2 separate regions of the Homo sapiens genome follow, and region 1 is linked to region 2. The links are contacts of gene promoters, found by promoter capture Hi-C in blood cells and fetal thymus (Javierre and others, 2016). All regions are on one chromosome and are shown on one strand. Each heading gives the region's core, a stretch centred on a gene start or on the middle of the fragment in contact. The rest is flanking DNA. Distances are from core to core; before and after follow the strand shown.

Region 1 (3,066 bases), core at 425-2,924, 270 kb before region 2:
GAGGGTTGAGATGGGAGGATTGCTTGATACCAGGTGGCAGAGGTTGCAGTGAGCCATGGTCAGACCACTGTACTCCAGCCTAGGTAACAGAGCAAAACCCTGTCTCAAAAAAGGAGTAAAAACAAAATACAAAAAAAAAGTGGGCAAAAGACTTAAATAGACATTTCTCCAAAGATATACAGATAGCAGGCACATGAAAAGATACTCAGCATCACTAATCATTAGGGAAATGCAAATGAAAACCACAATGAGCTAGCACACCTAATAGATGTGAACCTATTAGGGTGGTTATTATAAAAAATAAGTGTCAGGATGTGGAGAAATTGGGATCCTTGTACATTGCTGGTGGGAATGTAAAATGGTACAACCACTGTGGAAGACAATGTGGAGGGTCCTCAAAAAATTAAATGTAGAATTACCATATGATCCAACAATTCTACCTCTAGGTATATATCCAAAGGAATTGAAAGCAGGGACTCAAACATATTTGTACACCAATGTTCATAGCAGCATTATTCACAACAGTAACTCAAGTGCCCATTGATGGATGGATGGATGGATAAACAAAATATGGTATGTACATGCAACAGAATATTTTTCAGCCTTTAAAAGGAAGGAAATTTTGACACATGCTACAACAGGGATGAACCTTTAAAACATTATGCTAAGTGAAATAAGCGAGACATAAAAGAACAAATGTTATATGATTCCACTTATATGAGGTACCTTAGAATAGTGGTCCCCAACGTTTTTGGCACCAGGAACTGGTTTCATGGAAGACAATTTTTTCCACAAACCAGTTGGGGGCATACTGGGGGATGGTTTTGGGAAGGTTCAAGTGCATTACATTTATTGTGTACTTTATTATTATTACATTGTAGTATGTAATGAAATAATTACACAACTCACCATAATGTATAATCAGTGGGAGCCCTGAGCTTGTTTTCCTGCAACTAGACTGCCCCATCTGGGGGTCATATGAGACAGTGACCCATTATCAGGCATTAGATTTGCATAAGGAGCCCACAACCTAGATTCCTCGCATGTGCAGTTCGCAACAGGGTTCACGCTTCTATGAGAATCTAATGCTGCTACTGATCTGACAGGAGGCGGAGCTCAGGCAGTAATGCAAACAATGGGGAGCAGCTGTAAATAAAGACGAAGCTTTGTTCACTCACTCTCTATTCACCTCCTGCTGTGCAGTCTGGTTCCTAACAGGTCACTGATCAATATGGGTCATGGCCTGGGGGTTGGCGACTCCTGCCTTAGCATGATCAAATTCATAGAGACAGAAAGAATTACTATGGGGTAGAAAGGGAGTGCAGAATGGAGAGTTATTGTGTAGTGAGTACAGAGTTTGAGTTTGGAATGGATGAAAAAGTTGTGGAGATGGATAGTCATGATGTTTGCACAACAATATGAATGTATTTAATGCTACTGAATTGTGTACTCAAAATTGGTTAAAATGACAAACTATGTATATCGTGTGTGTGTGTGTATGTGTGTGTGTGTGTGTGTGTGTGTGTGTGTGTGTTTTCTAGACAGGGTCTTGTTCTATCACCCAGGCTGGAGTGCAGTGGTTTGTTCTTGGCTTGCTGCAACCTCCGCTTCCTGAACTCAAGCAATCCTCCTGCTACAGCCTTCCAAGTAGCTAGGACTACAGGTGTGTACCACCATGCCCAGCTAATTTTTGTACTTTTTTTTTGGTAGAGACAGGGTTTCGCCATGTTGCCCAGGTTGGTCTTGAACTCCTGGACTCAAGAAATCTGCCTGCCTTGGCCACCCAAAGTGTTGGCATTACAGGCATGAGCCACTATACTGGGTCAACTTTATGAATATTTTACTATAACAACAAAAAAAAACCTGTGAAATGCCTCTAGGAACCCCATGTGGAAGAGATCAGCCAACTGTAGGTAAGTCTAACCGATCAAAAACATTATGGATACAGTTTACCTCAGCAATAAGTCATTCCCAAGACCACAGTGCTGAGAAACTTTGAGTTGGTACTCTGAGGAGTCAGAGATGAGTTGGCACTAATCCCTACCTCCACAGTATTACAGTTGTTAGAAAATAGCATACACTCAAAAAATAAAAGGTCATACCAAGGACCAGGTCAGTGCTACAGACTCTTTTTAAGTGTCACAGAAGAAAAGGATCTTCATCCCATCTTTATGTTTGCTAGAGCAAGCTTGTTATCACAGTGTATTTAGCCCAACTCACACCCATTCTAATATTGTTTTACATCCACATATCCTTCTTAAGAAGCCTAGACAGCCATGTTTACAGAGCGTGACTCCACACCAGTAATAGATGCTCAGACCGAGGGCAAAACAGTGACCCAAGAACCAATCCATAGACTAACAGCTGAGCCAATCCATTTATTTCTAAGGATTCTGTACTAAGACTGAATCAGATGCTAATGGACCCTTGGACTGAACGATCCTGTAGGATGGAGCTAGAACACTCACACTGGGCCAGGTACAAGCAGTGGAAGCTATAAGAATGAAGCCGAAATAATAGACAACCCTAAAAAGAGAACAGTCTCAGAAAATGATTTCACAATTTCTGTCCTATGATGCCTGGCTGTCCTTTTTCTGTCCCTGGGTTGCTAACTTGTCAGTGAGATTTTTGTGTTCTTAAAAACACCTCCCTCTGCCACCATCATTCCGTTTAAGCCAGCTTGAGAGACTGTTCCTTGCCACCAAATGATCTTAGAGCAAGGGCATTTGAAGCCGGGCATGATGGCTCACACCTGTAATCCCAGCACTTTGGGAGGCCGAGGTGGGCAGATCACTTGATGGCAGGAGTTCGAGACCAGCCTGGCCAACATGGTGAAACCCCGTCTCTACTAAAAATACAAAAATTAGCCAGGCGTGGTGGCATGCGCCTGTAATTCCAGCTACTCTGGAGGCTGAGGCATGAGAATCACTTAAACTCAGGAGGCAGAGGTTAAGAAAAATTAAGAAAAAAAAATTAAAACTGTTAAATGGAAATGTCACAGGGACCATCCTTCTGGCATTCTTTTTTTTTTTTTTTTTTTGGAGACAGAGTCTCTCTCTGTTACCC
Region 2 (3,262 bases), core at 170-2,669:
GCACAGGCCATGGGAGGGATGGGGATCACCTGTTAATGGGTTTACTGAGGAATGTTCTGAACGGACTCAAATTTAAAAAGCACATTCAGGGAAGTACTCTAGGTTCAGGGTGGGTGGAAGGCTGGGTAGAATTCAGAAAGGCTCTAAAGCTGTGCTTATGGAAGCCACAGCTGGCTATTTAATTTTAAATTTCAATGAATTAAAATGAAATAAAGCTAAAAATCCAGTCCATCAGCCACAACAGACACATTCCAAGTGCTTAACAGCCATATGTGGTGAGGGGCTATGACCAGACAGCACACACACAGAACATTTTCATCATCCAAGGACATGTCATCAAAGTTCCATCTCACAGCTGAGCTCTGGAGAAAGCTGGCTCAGCATTCTGATTCCCATAAAGATCTCACAGTTATTCACAGGACCTCCTGTGTCAGACCTTGCGCTGGGCACTGGGAGCGCAGAAATGAACCTAAGACGGTCTCAGCCTTCAATGACCATTTACAGGGTGGAGGTGGACTACACGGGGTTGCCCCAGGGGCCATGGGTGCCCTGAGGTGACCCCTTCTTCAGCCCTGGGAGAAAAGGCTCCTCCTTCGAGGCGGTGACGCCTGAGCTGAGTCACGCAAAGAAGTTGGGGGAAAGAGGGAAATAGGATTCCAAGACGAGGGAACACTTGACGGCTCTGAAGTGGGGAGCAGCTTGGCCTGTACAATGGAACCTGAGGCCTGGTATGACTGGGGCATAAGCGGTGAGGCCTGAATGCACAAGCCGAGGTGGAAATGTGAGCAAGCGGCAGAATATGAAAACCTCTAAGCCGAAAAGCGTTTGGGCATTATTCTGAGGGCGCTGGGAAAGAAGTGGCGGGATCGTATCGGTGTTTCAGAAACCCCATTCTGGCACCAAAGGGGAGGTGCACAGAAGGTAGGGGGAAAAGGCAGGAAGCCGGCGCATCTCGCCACAGCGCTGGCGGGGAGACCAGCTGACGGGCGTGGAGGCGGCGGGGAGCGGGCGGAGGAGCTGGCGGGCGCTCCGGGGGACTCTGAGTGTCAGATTTCGGGAGTGACTCCGGCTCAGGTGAAAGCGAGGCCAGACACTCCAAGGCTGCGGCCCCGATGACACAGCCAGGCCTCACGGAAGGTGGGCAACGGAGTCCGTAGGGGGAGGCGACACGGGACCCCCACTCCCGCGCTGCGGGACGCGCCGCCCTGCCCCGCCCGCGCCGCCTCCATCTACCCCCGCGGTCCCCAGAACTCCCCACGCCGAGGGGCGGGGACGCGGCATACCTCGCGGTGAATCCGAGCCAAACCCCGGCCTTGTCTCACCCGGCACCGCCCTGGGCTCCCGCGGGCCCTGGGCCGCAGCGGTAGCGACAGGAAGCGCCAGCAGGGGAGGTGGCTCGCGCGCAACACGTGACCCCACTGGCCGGCGGCCGGCAGTGCGCATGTGCACGGCTACGCGGGCGGGGGGCTCCAACAGGTGACACCGGGGCGGGGTTCGCAGCGCGCAGGCGCGTTCGGGTAGGTAGCGCAGGACAGGAACTCTGGGCGGTTCCGCCGGGGCGTCCACCGGCCGGCTCCAATGAGGTCGCTGCGCCCAGCCCTCGCCCACTTGCAGCCTCTCCACCGAACCTCCTCCCTCACTCAGCCCGAGGCGCTGGGCGCTCGCTCGCTCGCTGGACCTACCCCGCCTCCAGCCCTCGCCCCGCCCCACCGAGCAAGAGGGCGGGGCCTACCCAAGCTCCGCCCTGGAAGAGAGACAGGGGCGGGGCTCACCTGCTTGTCCATGTCCTTTAAGCCTGGGGAAATGGAAATGGGGCCCACCATATGTTTCTTAATAATTCAGCACCTGAAAGTATCCTTTTCCGGTCCGTTGAAAACTTCAGACAGGCAGAGCTCGCTGCACATCTTAAATACTTTACAGAGTCTAACACTAAGTTCTCACTCGCCTACCCTGCTGTGCAATCAAATGGCATGGAGGATATTAAGGAGAGAAACGGAGTATACCCGTTTTCTGCCAAGCTTGTGTCAGTCACTTTTCATAATGGAGCTTATACCAGTTCTCAATCCTGCAAGATGGACATCATCTCTAGAAGAAACGGAGGCTCAGAGAGAATTATTTGCCCAGGGAAATACAAAACCAACCTCTTTAGCATCAGTAAATATGCTCTAGTCTAGTTTTCTAAGGAAAGCACGTTTCTCCCTGCGGCTTGCAGAGTCCAGTTAACAAGAGATTGAGCTCAGGAGTCCGAGACCAGCCTGGGCAACATGGCGAAACCCTGTCTCTACAAAAAATTACAAATATTAGCCGGGTGTGGTGGTGCGTGCCTGTAGTCCTACCTACTGAGAGGCCGAGGCAGGAGAATCGCTGTGGCCCCGGAGGTCCAAGCTGCAATGAGCTGTCAACTGCACTCCAACCCGGGTGACAAGGTGAGACCCTGTCTCAAACTAAAACAAACAAAAAAACCGAGAGCGGAGTAATGGGGAAGTGGCCAGATTCCCATCTAAAGTAACCACTTCGATTTTGGGGGGAAAGAGAACGGCTTAAAAGGAAAATTTGATATGGGAAGCATGCAAGAATTGTACAGAGTACAACGTCTGTGTGTCTTGTTCTGGTGGCTATCTTGGGTCCCAGCCTACCTGGAGCGTGGGCTGGTCTCATCTCCACAATGGCCCCGCTGTTGACTAGCCACCTTGAAGTAATCTTTGGAATTTTGCAGCTGTGTCTCCAGGCTTGGTTTGTCTGTCTCAAGATTAGCCCTTGGAACTTCTCAGAAGGCAGATAATTAAATACTAGCATACAGTAAGATAAATGTGAAGGGAGTATATACAGTGAGAAAGGGAGGGATATGGGGTCTATTTTACAGCTAAGGGAAAAGGCTTTTGCAGTTTGCTTCAAGGTTGTATCTTGAAACCCAAGAGAAAGGAAAAAAAGTTTTAAAATGTATTTTAAAGTTAAACTGCTGGATTAGTTTCTTCTGTCTAAAACATTGCCATCTCCTCTCCTGCCTATGCCTTGAACTTTTAAATTATGTTTTCTAGTTAGCGATCTCCCAGTTTACTTGGACAAAGGGCTTTTCCATCTCCTGATTGCTTACTTTTTTTCTTTTTTTTTTTTTTGAGACAGGATCTCATTCTGTCACCCAGGCTAGAGTGCAGTGGTGCGATCTCCACTCACTGCAACCTGCACCTCCCAGGCTCAAGCAATCCTCTCACCTCAGCCTCTTGAGTAGCTGGGACCACAGGCACGTGCCACCATGCCCAGC

The links. The method cuts DNA at HindIII sites, captures the fragments that hold promoters and counts their contacts. A CHiCAGO score of 5 or more calls a contact.
Region 1: a contact is called between a fragment that was not itself captured here and the fragment with the promoter of CC2D1B in region 2, in 1 of 17 cell types (endothelial precursors). The highest score is 5.1, in endothelial precursors.

What each region holds. Positions count from the first base shown.
Region 1 is chr1:52,097,185-52,100,250 of GRCh38, forward strand. No RefSeq gene overlaps it. Among named protein-coding and RNA genes, the nearest start is that of BTF3L4, 42 kb to the left of the region's middle. The HindIII fragment of the contact is 1,024 bases long and covers 1,163-2,186 here.
Region 2 is chr1:52,364,786-52,368,047 of GRCh38, forward strand. CC2D1B (coiled-coil and C2 domain containing 1B) reads right to left here and starts at 1,420. Exons shown (of 25, transcript NM_001330585.2): 1 at 1,284-1,420. RefSeq lists silencers at 1,020-1,129, 1,170-1,799. The HindIII fragment of the contact is 5,331 bases long and covers 1-2,016 here.